Linked DNA regions of Homo sapiens: regions 2, 3 and 4 are each linked to region 1. Evidence: promoter capture Hi-C in 16 types of primary human blood cells and fetal thymus (Javierre and others, 2016). All regions are on one chromosome and are shown on one strand. The core of a region is centred on a gene start or on the middle of the fragment in contact, and the rest is flanking DNA. Distances in the headings are between cores, read along the strand shown.

Evidence for each region. The method cuts DNA at HindIII sites, captures the fragments that hold promoters and counts their contacts. A CHiCAGO score of 5 or more calls a contact.
Region 2: a fragment that was not itself captured here is called in contact with the fragment with the promoter of ATP2B4 in region 1 in 3 of 17 cell types (naive B cells, total CD8 T cells and fetal thymus); the score reaches 6.5 in naive B cells.
Region 3: a contact is called between a fragment that was not itself captured here and the fragment with the promoter of ATP2B4 in region 1, in 7 of 17 cell types (activated CD4 T cells, non-activated CD4 T cells, total CD8 T cells and 4 more). The highest score is 8.0, in activated CD4 T cells.
Region 4: a contact is called between a fragment that was not itself captured here and the fragment with the promoter of ATP2B4 in region 1, in 1 of 17 cell types (activated CD4 T cells). The highest score is 5.6, in activated CD4 T cells.

What each region holds. Positions count from the first base shown.
Region 1 is chr1:203,625,204-203,628,465 of GRCh38, forward strand. ATP2B4 (ATPase plasma membrane Ca2+ transporting 4) reads left to right here and starts at 1,629. Exons shown (of 21, transcript NM_001684.5): 1 at 1,629-2,016. RefSeq lists enhancers at 623-1,497, 1,498-2,370. The HindIII fragment of the contact is 13,651 bases long and covers 1,290-3,262 here.
Region 2 is chr1:203,250,053-203,253,314 of GRCh38, forward strand. No RefSeq gene overlaps it. Among named protein-coding and RNA genes, the nearest start is that of CHIT1, 22 kb to the left of the region's middle. The HindIII fragment of the contact is 166 bases long and covers 1,597-1,762 here.
Region 3 is chr1:203,267,994-203,271,255 of GRCh38, forward strand. LOC124904486 (a long non-coding RNA gene) reads right to left here. Exons shown (of 2, transcript XR_007066798.1): 2 at 1-3,262. Among named protein-coding and RNA genes, the nearest start is that of LINC01353, 18 kb to the right of the region's middle. The HindIII fragment of the contact is 1,041 bases long and covers 1,079-2,119 here.
Region 4 is chr1:203,335,123-203,338,384 of GRCh38, forward strand. No RefSeq gene overlaps it. Among named protein-coding and RNA genes, the nearest start is that of FMOD, 14 kb to the right of the region's middle. The HindIII fragment of the contact is 4,053 bases long and covers 1-3,262 here.

The DNA of each region.
Region 1 (3,262 bases), core at 379-2,878:
GTAGTCCCAGCTACTCGGGAGGCTGAGGCAGGAGAATGGCGTGAACCCCGGAGGCGGAGCTTGCAGTGAGCCGAGATCACGCCACTGCACTCCAGCCTGGGCAACAGAGCAAGACTCCGTCTCAAAAAAAAAAAAAAAAACCATAAAGAAAAAAGAAATAGCAGGGTAAGAAAATGAAGAGGAAAAAGAGGACCCAAATGAGAGAACATTGGGAAGGGTGCTAGTTGGACACGGGGGAAACTGGACCCCGTTTCACAACCCTGTTTCTCCATGCACATGTGGCTCTGCTTCTTGGGGGCAGAGATGACAGCAAAGAAGGACAGGGGGTGGTGTGAGCTGTTGGGTTAGAATGATAGGATCAAAGAGGCCTTTTCCCAACCCTCTGTTTAAAAGGTTGGGAAGTAGTGGCCAGTCACCTTCTTCACAGCATAGCTCATAGCTATAACCTGTGAGACATATGTCAATGTGCCTTCCATAAGCATATAAACATGAGTGTGTTTGCTGAGGTAGGTGTGGGAATCTGTCAGTCAATGAAGATATGTTGTGTGAACCAGCTGATGGTGCATGTTTGTGCTTGAAAGCCATAAAGTTCTATGCAAAATCTATGGGTGGCACTGTTGCACAATGCTAGTGGGTGTGTGGGTATGGGGGTGTGATTAACTGTTTACAGGCTGTGTATAAGTGTGCATGGATGTCTGAGTGTGTGCAAATTAAAACGGAAATATGTGCCGGAGTATGATACAAAGTACAGGAAAGTACTCGGGCTTTGGAGTCTGTCTGACTTGGTCTTGAATCGTTGGCTCTGTCATTAGCCGGATGTATAACCTTGGGCCAGACACTCAATCTTCAATTCCCTCAACTAGGAAATGAGGTTAATAATAAGTACCTTTCAAGATTAAATGAGGACTAGAAACGATACCATATAGACAAAGCTTTTGGTGTCATAGCCCACGCATAGCAGGACTCAAAAGTAAGCAGCTATTTTCATGCACTGTCAGTATACCTCTGGTGGGTACAGGGACAAGAGGGAACAAAATGTGACCTGTATATAAGGTGTAGGGGAGGACGGGTGTGTGTGTGTGTGTGTGTGTGTGTGTGTGTGTGTGTGTGTGTGTGTTTACAAAACAATTTATTCTCCTTCTCCAAGGAACCCCCTATTCAGACAGGAGCAGGAAGGTAGGAGGGGACATACAAGTGTCCACAGACACCTCGGGTTTCTGGGTCCTGGATCTAAGTGAGTAAGGGGTTGAGAGGCCCGTAGGAGCTGCAGGAAGCCAGCCGCCTGCCCAAGCTTCCTTTTTTTTCCCCTCCGCCCAGCAACCGTTGAATACCGCCACCCACATCCACTCCCCACCTCCACCCTCACCCCTCCTCCACCCCTACTCAGCTTTCTATTCAACAAGTGAGAGCAAGGGCGGGGAAGAAAGCCGACAGGGGAGAGGATTGCTTCCCTTTCTTTTCCCATTCCCCCTTAAGACGAACCAGGAAGTAACCGCAAGAATCGGGCCACCTTAACAGTAGAGTAATGGTTTGGCCTCGCGCCAAGTCCCACCTCTGTTCCAGCTCCTGCTCCTCCCCTCTCTCTTCCCGCACTGCTTGGGGAGAGCTGGTGAGCAAGAGTCTGGCCCGAGTTAGCTAGAGCTGTTGCCATGACAAGCATTTTCTTAAGAAAGCTCTGCTGTTGAGATCGTCCAAAGCTGGGGGCTGGGAGGGGGGGCACGAACTTCGTGGGGCACCATCCCTCCGAAGAGAGCAAGATCAGAGACACCCGCCCAGCTCTCCTGCACCCTTTTTCTTTCAGGAACCTGAGAGGTCCTTCCCATTGGAGGGGCAGGGGGAGGAGACCCAGCCCACTCCCCGGCCTTAGCCAGAAAGGCAAGAGAGCAAAGCCAGCGTCTCTAGCTTGGTTGCCACACTGGGGAGACTGGTGGGTGGTCACCCCACCCTACCCTCATCCATGGAAACCCGGAGGGAGAGTCCCGCCTGAAGAAACCTGGATCTTTGCTAGAAAGAGAGGTAGGCTTGCAGAGAATGAATTGACTTGTGATTTGCAAACTTTGTTTCTTTCTTTTCTCTCAATGGCTTCTAAAACTCCCCGATTTTCCTCTTTCTAGAATATTTCATGCGACTGGGTTTGGAGGATTTTTTTTAAAATATGTGTGTGTGCACAGATTTGTCAAATACTGTTTTACCTATTATCAGTTCTGAGAAACCATATAGTCGAACAAGTGATTTATCTCTCTTTTCCTAGTTCTTGTCATTCCTGGGCTATGGGGTAGGGTAATGGAGGGTTCTCTTTTTGACACCAAAATTGAGCTCTTGGAAAAAATATTTATCTCCCCTCCCTCAACCCATTCCGTTCCTGCCCTCCCCTTCCCCCCTTGGCTTGGGAATGAGACGCAGGATGGAAAACTGTTGCAAAAATATTTTCCGTGTCTGTTCCCTTTCTCGAAAGCCCAAAAGAGAGATGGAAAAAAAAAAAAAAAAGGAACCAAAGAAATCTTCAGCAGAAAGAGGGGCTGCAGCGGGAACTAGGAGAGGGGCACTTTGGGGCCATGGGGTGGAGGTGGGCTGGGAGAAGTTGGCAGGAGTGGGGAAGGAGAGTGCACGAATTAAATTTCTTTAGCTTTGCAGAGAAACCTCAGCAGTTTCTCTGTGCTGCTTGCAAAACATCCTCAGACTTTCACATGTATAATTAGCTGTGGAAAAAGCTGGGAGTTACCTCGTACCGCTGTTGTTTGAGTGTGTGTGAGCGTCCAGAACCAACTGTATGAGTGTCTCCGAGGGCACCGCCCCACACATCTCTGGTCCCAAAGGGGAGGAAGGAGAAGGGTGAATTGAAAAGTTTCCGATGTCGAGGCTGGACACTGTGGGGCTGGTGAGTGTTTGGCAGATGGGGTGGGCCACAGGCATCTGTGGAAGGATCCCTGAGCGTCTCGGGCCACTGCCTTGGCTTGCTGAAGAGCTAGGAATTAAGACTGGGATTGTCCTTCCTGCTCTCCCTTCTCTCTTTCTTTTACATACTTGGCTCGCTCTTGGTAGAGGGGGCTGCTGGCATCCTTCCCCGAGTCGAGTCTGGCCTCTTACACTCCTCCACCTCCCTGAGGGTACCCGCCGCTCTTCTCCAACTGGGTGTGGAGGGTGCAGGAGTGGCCAGCCGCATCTTGGGAGGGGAGTGGGCACTCTGCTGCCAGAGGCACGTCCCTCCTGGGCATTCCTGCCGGACTTAACAATAACTTGCAGACGTGATGCCGGCGCCTGC
Region 2 (3,262 bases), core at 430-2,929, 380 kb before region 1:
GAGGCCAAGGCAAGCAGATCACTTGAGGTCAAGAGTTGGAGACCAGCCTGGCAAACACGGTGAAACCCTGTCTCTACTAAAAATACAAAAATTAGCCAGGCATGGTGGCATGCACGTGTAATCCCAGCCACTTGGGAGGCTGAAGCAGGAGAATCGCTTGAACCCAGGAGGCAGAGGTTGCAGTGAACAGAAATCTTACCACTGCACTCCAGCCTGGTGACAGAGTGAGACCTTGTCTCAAAAAACTAAAACTAAAAGGTAGGTATTATCCACATAACTGATCTTTTTAATCTTGATTACCAGGCCGGGATACTATTTGCCAGGTTTCTACTTCTCCACCTGGCTTCCCTATTCTACTCTTTGGAAGCGAGTCAGTAAGTGCAGCCCACACTCTAGGGGTGAGGAGTTAAGCTCCACTTCCTTGGGGAAGAAGCAACTACATACCTTTATTATATAATTCTGTATGGGACATTTGTCCCTTCTCTCCCATTTATTTACTATATCATTTATTTATATCCATATGGACTCATAGATATTTATTTATGTTTTGAGTTATAATCAAATACTATTAGTACATTATTTATTTTGCTGCTCAAATTTTTCCAGCTTTGGCCACCGAGAGCTCTTTAATGTTGGCTTGTTTCAGTCAGCATAAAGTTTTTGAGACTCATCCATTTTGTTGTTATCAGTAGTCTGTTTCTTTTAATTGCAAGAAGTATTGTATTTTATGAATATATCCCACTTCATAAACATTGGGTTATTTCCAGTTTTGGCTATCAGAAATGCAAAGCTTCTATGAACAGTTATGTATACGTCTCTTCGTGGACATATGTTTTCATTTACTTTGAATAAATACACAGGTGTAAAATTAGAGTCATCAGCTAGCTTTATGTTTAATAAGAAGCTACCAAGCAAGCAACTTTTCAAAGTAATTGTGCCATTTCACACATCCAAGAGCAACGTGAGAGTTTTTGTTATGTCAAATGCTTGCCAACATGTGGTGTTGACAGTCTTTATAATTTTAGACATTCTAGTAGGCATGTAGTGATTCATTATGGCTTTAATTTGCCTTTGCCTGCTGAGTAATGATGTCGAGCACTTTTTTTATATGTCTTTGTCCATTCATATGTCTTTGTTTGCTTCTGAAAATGTTGCTCAAGTCTGTCATCCACATTTTTATTGTGTTAGAAGTTCTTTATTATTCTGGATAGAAATCCATATTCAGATATATGTACTGTGAATGTTTTCTACCAGCCTTTGGTTTTGCCTGTTCGTTTTCTTAGCTGAGTCTTTTTTTTTGTATTGTGGTAAAAACCACACAACATTAAACCATCCTAAACATTTTTAAATGTACATTTCAGTACTGTTAAGTATATTCACTTGTGCAACAAGTCTCTAGAAATTTTTCTTCTTGCAACACTGAAACTCTATACCTACCAAACATGAATTCCCCATCCCACCTCCCGCAAGTTCTTGGCGACTACCTTTTTACTTTATGTTTTGAGGATTCTGACTTATTTAGATACTTTATATGAGTGAATTATACAGTATTTGTCCATTTGTGACTGGCTTATTTCACTTAGCATAATGTCCTTAAGCTTCATTCATGTTGTAACATGCCCTTTTTTAAGGGCACATAAAATTCCATTATGTGCATATACCACATTTTCTTATCCAATTACCTGTTATTTCCTCCTGTTGGCTATTGTGAATAATCCTGCAATGAACATGGGTGTGCAAATATCTCTGAGATCTGCTTTGAAGCTTTTTGGCTATATACCCAAAAGGGGGATTGCTGGATCATATGATAGTTCTATTTTTAATGTTTTGAGAAACTCCATACTGTTTTTCATAACATCTGTATAATTTACTTTCCCACCACCAGTGCATGAGGACCCAAACTTCTCTGCATCCTTGTCAACACTTGTTATTTCCTGTTATTTTTATAATGGCTATCCTGATGGGTGTGAGGTGATATCTCATTGTGAGTTTTATTTACATTTCCCTAGTGATTAATGATGTTGAGCATATTTTCATGTACTTAATAACCATTCATATATCTTCTTTGGAGAAATGTCTATTTAAATCCTTTGCCAGTTTTTAAATTGGATTATTTGGGGTTTTTCTTGTTGTTAAGTTGTACAAGATCCTTATATATTCTGGATATTGACCCCTTATCAGATATATGACTTGCAACTCTTTTCTCCCATTCCATAGGTTGCCTTTTCTCTCTGTTGACTGTTACTTTGATGTGTAAAAAAACTTAAGTTTTATGTAGTACTATTTGTCTATTTTTTATTTTGTTGCCTGTGCTTTTGGTATCATATCCAAGAAATTATTGCCAAATCCAATTGTTGGCATATAATTGCTCATAATGGCATTTACATTTTAAGAAATTGCTGATAGTGAAGGACTTACTGTTGCCATTTTGTTCATTGTGTTCTGTTTCACTTGTAGCTTTCTTTGTCCCCCCCCCCTTTTTTCTTTTGATAATTTCTTTTGTGTTTCATTAATTTTTTTTTGTGGCCACAGATTTTGATTCCCTTCTCACTTCCTTTCCTTTACAGTCTTTGTCCATTTTCTGTTGCTGTAACAGAATACTTGAGACCAGGTAATTTATTTTTTAAAAAGAGGTTTGTTTAGCTCACAGTTCTTGATGCTGGGAAGTTCAAGATCAAACAGCTGCATCTGACGAGGGTCTCATGCTGTGTCATAACATGGAGGATGGCATCACATGGTGGTTATGCATGTGAGAGCACTGAGCGGGTACACACACAAGAGAGAAAACATGAGGGGTGACCTCACTTTATAACAACCCACTCTTGCGGTAACTAATCCAGTCACTGAAGAGCAATAATTCACTCCTGTGAAATGGCATTAATCCCTTCATAAGGACAGATGGCTTATGACCCAAATGCCTCTTAAAGGTCCCACCAGTTCTCAACACCATTACATGGGGAACAAGCCTTAACATGAATTTCAGTGGGGGATAAACCATATTCAAATCATAGCACTTACATTCTATAGTTACTGTCTTTGTGGTAACCATTGCAATTACGTGAAACATAACCTCTTAATGTTTTAACAATCTACTTTTAATGAGTACCATGTGGTGGTTTCCTGATTAAAGCCCCTTAATTCAGAAAAACTGCTTGCTTGCTTACTTGTTTGCCTGTTCTCTTACATAGGTGTGTCTCCATAGATAAATTAGGGGAAAATCTGTCCCTTTGTATTTCAAAAAGGGCAAAGAAAATTGTAATTA
Region 3 (3,262 bases), core at 349-2,848, 360 kb before region 1:
ACGTTCGTTCTTTCTTTTTGGGTTCTCCCCCACCCCTGCGAGATCATCTAACATTCCTCTTTATTCCCACTGCACCATTAATTTCTATCCTGACTGATTCACAACCCCGAGTTCCGAAGCAAGGGCAAGCTGTGGGGCGCTTCTTGCCGTCTCTACTCAAAACGGAAAAAGCTGGCCAGGCGCGGTGGCTCACGTCTGTAATCCCAGCACTTTGGGAGACTGAGACAGGAGGATCGCTTGAGCCCAGGAGTTCAAGATCAGTCTGGACAACGTAAGGAGACCCTGTCTCTTCAAATATATATATATATATATATATATATATATATACACACACACACACACACATATACATATGTGTATATATACATATATATGTGTGTATATATATACACATATATGTGTGTGTATATATGTATATATGTATATAATTATATATGTATATATGTGTATATATACGTATATAATTATATATACACACATATATGTGTATATATGTAAAATTAGCCAGGCATGGTGGTACGTACCTATGGTCTCAGCTACTCAGGAGGCTGAGGCAGGAGGATCGCCTGAGCCCTGGGGTGTTGAGGCTGTGGTGAGCTGTGATGGTGCCACTGCACTCCAGCCTGGGGCAGGGACTGAGACCCCATCTCAAAAAATAAAAATAAAAAGAATGGAAAGAACCAATGAAATCTTGATGCTATTAACACCTCTGAATATTTCACTGGTTTCTAGAATCCACACAAAACAGGAATCCTACAGAATGATGGCTTGCAGAGGACATTGTAACAGGGCAGTCAAACCAGTTGGAGAAGTGTGCTCTGTCCTATAAAAACGTGCTCCTTCCTGACGTCTACCCCATGTTGGTGGGCCCATGATCTCCTCCTAGACCTCTCAGCTGAAATCAGTCCTGTCCCTGTGTTTGGTGTCCTTCATACCCTCTCGTGGCTGCCTCCCTGCCACGGCCCTGGCTCAGGCCCTGGTCACCTTGCCTAGGGTAGTGGCTTCCCTGGGAATGCCATCTCCACTCAATACTCCTTCTGGTGCTAGAGTGCCCTGCTCAAGGCCTCACCTCCCACGAAGCTTCCTGAACAGCTTAACTCACTGTTTCTTCCTGTTCTGCCCTCTCCTATTATCTGTGCAAATCTGAAGGCACTTTCTGCTCTGTCATGTACCTGATCTTTCCTGCCAGCCTAGACTGCTTTGATGAAAACTGCATCAGATAGCAGAGGAAACACTTATTTGTATGGAAGTGGCGTCCTCTGCTGGTAGAAGTATGTAATGACTGGAACTTTTCCCTAGCTGTGTAAAGGACCCTCACTGCCCAAAGCTGAGACAACCAGTGATACCCAAGGAAACCCAGCTGCCCTTCTCTCTGCCCACCCCAGTCCCTAAGCATGTAAAATTCAATCCACTGACTCACTCACCAGATTTCCACACCTCACTATTACACTAAGATGTTCCTGATGCTCCAGTCTCATGGATAATGGCAATCTTTAACATTAATTGGATATGCACTGTATATGCCAGGCACTGGGCTAATCTCTTCATCTGTATTATATTATTTAACCCTCATAGCAACTTTGTACGGCAGACAAGTGGACCAGATTCCTTAAAAGCAGAGCCTGGGACAGATTTCATGCATATCTTCTTCTGTTGGGGAAGAACCCTCAGAAGAAAGAAAAGGAAGGAGAGTGGGGTGGGGAAGGAGGGAGCCAGGCTGTGGTGTCAGCTGTGGCTGAGCTGCGGCCTGATTTCATGGGGATCCCTGAAGCATGTGCTACACCAGAGTTCATCTTGTCTTGAGGTCGGGGACTGGCCTTTCCTGCCCCTGTGTCAGACAAGCATCGGCTGCAAGCCCCAAGTAAGGCAGCTTCCATTCCCGGGGAAGTCTCTGCAGAGGGAATAACTGTGAACTGTTACCAGCCAAACCTCACAGCAGCCGGTGGGCAGGGATGGAGGGTTGCACCAGACCAGTAAAGGGGATTTGGCTGGGCACTAATAGCAACCATGGTACTGTTATTTCTACTGTACAAATGCAGAATTATAATCTTCCAGGTTTGTAGATACTTTATAGATTTTGAGTGTTTTCATATTCATTACCTCATTCAATGTTACAGTAAGCTTGAGAGGTAGTGATCATGATCCCCACTTTATGAATGAGAGTGAGAAGTGGGAGACTTCCTCAGGATTGTCCAGCCAATAAATACCTTCTCTGTTTATAAATAGCGTCTTCTCAGATACATAGGCAGCTGTATTGGGTCCCAGTCCAACCTCTTCCCTGTGACATTCAGGCTCTGGTCGTTTACCAAGGATCTTACAGCCCTTTTAACTCAAAAGAGCCATGAAGCTGGCAACCTTCCTTGCTGAGACTAGGTACGAGGATACACCTCCTATCAGGTGAGGCCTTACCTTGCCTGCCTGACACTTTGCTGGGCTCAGAATGCTTCTCCAAATTCCCCCATGGAAAGAAGACACCCGGGCACTTCTCACCTGCTCCTGCTTCTGCAGTTCCCTTGGCAGTTTCCTTAGAGGTGTCCCAGCAAGCTAGAGTCTGTCAGAGGACATTGAGGGCCAGGCCAGAGAAGTTTAGAAAGAGTCCCAGGACTACCTGAGCACTGCCTTCACCTGCCACAGGGGTAGCTGTGCAGCCAGTCTTGTGGCAGAGGCTGGGGTTTCCTGGATCTTAGAAGTGTCACCTCTTCCACCCTCTCAGGGCCCTGGACTTTCGCCCTCAAGCTGCCTCTGGATCTAGCAAAGGCCCTGAGCCATCTTTGGAATGGATGAGTTCGAAAAGCTGCATTAGAGTGGCTCCCCTCCTTCAACGCCACCTCATCAGAGTTCTAAGGGATGCTTCACACCTAAGAGCTGATGAGGTACAGCAGGAGCACACAGGGGACCCAGAAACCTCGCATTGTGTTGAGAAACAGCTGACTGACTCAGGTTCAAATCCCCCACTCTATCACAGGGCATCTCAGTTAAGATGAGGTAGAAATGAGAGTAACAGAAAATTCACAACAGCAGCAATTGTGTTGTTATTGAGTGGCCCTTGCCCTCATGGTACAAGGTAGCACCTGCCTACCAAGTAGCAAAACAGAGGGAGGGACAAAGAAGAAGGAGCAGACAGCAGATGCACAACCTGTGTCTTAAGAAAGGTTCCCAGACACTGCTGCATAACGCGTCTACTTACTTCTCTTTGGCCAGAACTCAGTCATGTGACCACGCCTACCCACACAGGAGACTGGGAAATGCAGTCTTCATTCTG
Region 4 (3,262 bases), core at 425-2,924, 290 kb before region 1:
ATACGAAAACGAAAAATTAGCTGGGTGCAGTGGCGGGCGCCTCTAGCCCCAGCTACTCAGGAGGCTGAGGAAAGAGAATGGTGTGACCCCAGGAGGCGGAGGTTGCAGAGCGAGACTCTGTCTCAAAAAAAAAAAAAAAGTCTGTTTTATTGTCCTATGAAAACATAGGTATTTATTAAAATGTGTCATAATTTTTGGCTCAGAAAACATAATAAGTGAGGCCAATGAGAGATGCTTTTCATAATTTTAAGGTGCCTATGGGCTGAGAGTCCCCTTAGGGGAGGACGGGCCAGGAAACACCACCTGACACTTGCTCTGGGCCAAAGCCCTCAGGGCTGTTCTGGGTCCACTCCCCTGCTGCCATAAGGACATCCCCTCTGCTCCTGGCTTACCCTTGCTACAGGGCTTGGAACTGCTTATGCCCCTGACGCCTTGACCGTGTGTATACCTTGATTGTATATATCTGTTTCTACTTTGGGACTTGAGTTTTCTGGCTCCTTCCTTGGAATAGCTTTCCGCACACCTTCTTGTGCAAACTGCCATTGTTGGTCTTGTTATCTGACTCAGATCTACCTCTGGGACTGCCAGCTAAGCCTGGCACTGATAGCATGCTTCTGTTATTGTCCCTGCCTGCCTCCAGAGTCCTATTTTGCCAAAACTCATGGCTCTGATGAACACTTGTGGAGAAAATGTGGGGATTATTGGGGTAGAATACAAGGACAAAGCTGCCGATTCTCTATTTCTGGTGGGTTGTAAGAAAGTTCAAGACTGACCCCTCTGATTTCCAATACTCTTGCTTATGTAGGTAGGTCTTCTTATTGCCTCTTGGAACTCTGACCCATTTCCTGTTTTTATTTCTTAAACTGGGTCAAATGTACTTCTGTTCTTTCTCCCCTACGTGTAGCTCACAATCTGGACACATAGATGGAAACAGCTCATTTATCTTTAGTGTTTGCAGTTTCTTTTGGAGCCCAGCATGGCTGGGCATGGTCTGCTTGGTCCTTTTGTCCATTCCAGTCTTTCTGGACTCATTTCCCCCTTCTTCTGCTCCCTGGACCACACGGTCCAGGAAAGGATTAGGTCCAGTTTATTGTGCCATTTCATGCAGCACATATGAGCATGGCCTAGTTTCCAGAAAAGTTTCCTACTCTGGAAACCTGGGCTGCTACAAGATTGAGCAATGTGTTTGCTCCATCTGGGCACAACTTTCTAGCCTAGGTACCCAGAGGCTCAGCTGGCAACAGGAGTCATGTCTACTAGCTCCCATCTGTCTGAGGCAGAAGAATTTCTGGGAGAGTTTGAGGTCTACACAGGATACTGAGTCTCCTGATGATATACATCAACTGTGGACCCTGCATCTGAGTGCTTAGTAGAATAAATGGCTGAGCTAGCAAACAAAGCTAACAAAGAAGTGCATTGCAAGCCCCCAGTGAGAGGGAGCTTGGGGCTGTTCTGCAGCATTCCTGGCTACCCTGCCCCTCATCATTCCCCACCCTTGGAAAAAAAAAATGAACATTTTGTCCCTATGCCTTAATTGGCACTTATAGCAAACTACCTCATGGGTTCTTGAATGAACTAGGTGTCTTTTAAGTTGTTAAGGTAAAACAAATGTTAGTTATTATTATTTCTATCACATGCCATGGCAAGAACCTTGAGAACTTTACATTCAACTTTCACATACTAAATGCAGCAACTACTGACACATTATCTAGCTCAAGGTTTGCATTCAGTAAAAATTTGTTGAGTGATTAAGCTATGTTCATAGAGAGAAAAGACGATGATTTGCCTATTTTTCTTGCCTTCCCTCTATGATCCATGTTTCTGCTTGTCTTTCCTTGGCTTGACTTAGAGAGAAATGGGAAATCCTATCTTTGTTTTTCATACATCTAACAGAAATGTAGCATTCCTTTCAATTATGAAGGTAACAAACCACAGCCTTATTAGCAGTACCTGAGGCTTTGTCACCAGCTGAAATCACATATATTTTTATTTATTTTTTATTTTTTGAGATGAAGTCTCGCTGTTGCCCAGGCTGGAGTACAGTGGCTCTATCTTGGCTCACTGCAGCCTCCGCCTCCCAGGTTCAAGCAATTCTCCTGCCTCAGCCTCCTGAGTAGCTGGGACTACAGGCATGCGCCACCATGTCCAGCTAATCTTTGTATTTTTAGTGGAGACAGGGTTTTATCATGTTGGCCAGGCTGGTCTTGAACTCTTGACCTCAAGTGATCCATCCGCCTGAGCCTCCCAAAGTGTTGGAATTACAGGTGTGAGCCAGAGCACCCGGCCCACAGATTTTTTTTTTTTTTTTGAGACGGAGTCTTGCTGTGTTGCCCAGGCTGGAGTGCAGACCGCTCACTGCAAGCTCCGCCTCCCGGGTTCACGCCATTCTCCTGCCTCAGCCTCCCGAGTAGCTGGGCCTACAGGCACCCACCACCACGCCCAGCTATTTTTTTTGTATTTTTTAGTAGAGACGGGGTTTCACCGTGTTAGCCAGGATGTTCTCTATTTCCTGACCTCGTGATCCGCCCGCTTCGGCCTCCCAAAGTGCTGTGATTACAGGCATGAGCCACCGCGCCCGGCCAGCCACCGCGCCCGGCCAAGATATTTTTATATCACATTACAGTTGTTAAAATAGTTTGATATGCCATTTACATGCATCAATAGTTTGAAATGACTATAATTAACTAGACCTGTTGCTAAATCTTGTTATTCATCGACTTAATAAAGAAACATATATATTATTATATCAAAAATGTATATGTTTTATATTTTGGTAACTGTACTTCAATGTAATTAGTTTCCTTTGTAATCCTTTACAAAGTCTTTGTAAGCCTAGGCATGTGGCCTAGGCGGGCAGATCGCTTATGTCCAGGAGTCGGAGACCAGCTTGGGCGACATGATGAAACCCCATCTCTACAAAAAAGCCAAAAGTTAGGTATGGTGGTACATGCCTGCAGTCCCAGCTACTTGGGAGGCTGAGGCAGGCAGGAGGGTTGTTTGAACCCAGGAGGTGGAGGTTGCAATGACCTGAGATCGCGCCACTGCACTCCAGCCTGGGTGAGAGTGAGACCCTGTTTCAAAAAAAAAAAAAAAAAAAAGGCCGGGAGTGGTGGATCACGCCTGTAATTCCAGCACTTTAGGAGGTCGAGGTGGGCGGATCATGAGGTCAGGAGTTCGAGACCAGCCTGACCAACATAGTGAAACACTGTCTCTACTAAAAATATAAAAATTAGCCGGGCGTGGTGGCGCACACCTGTAATCC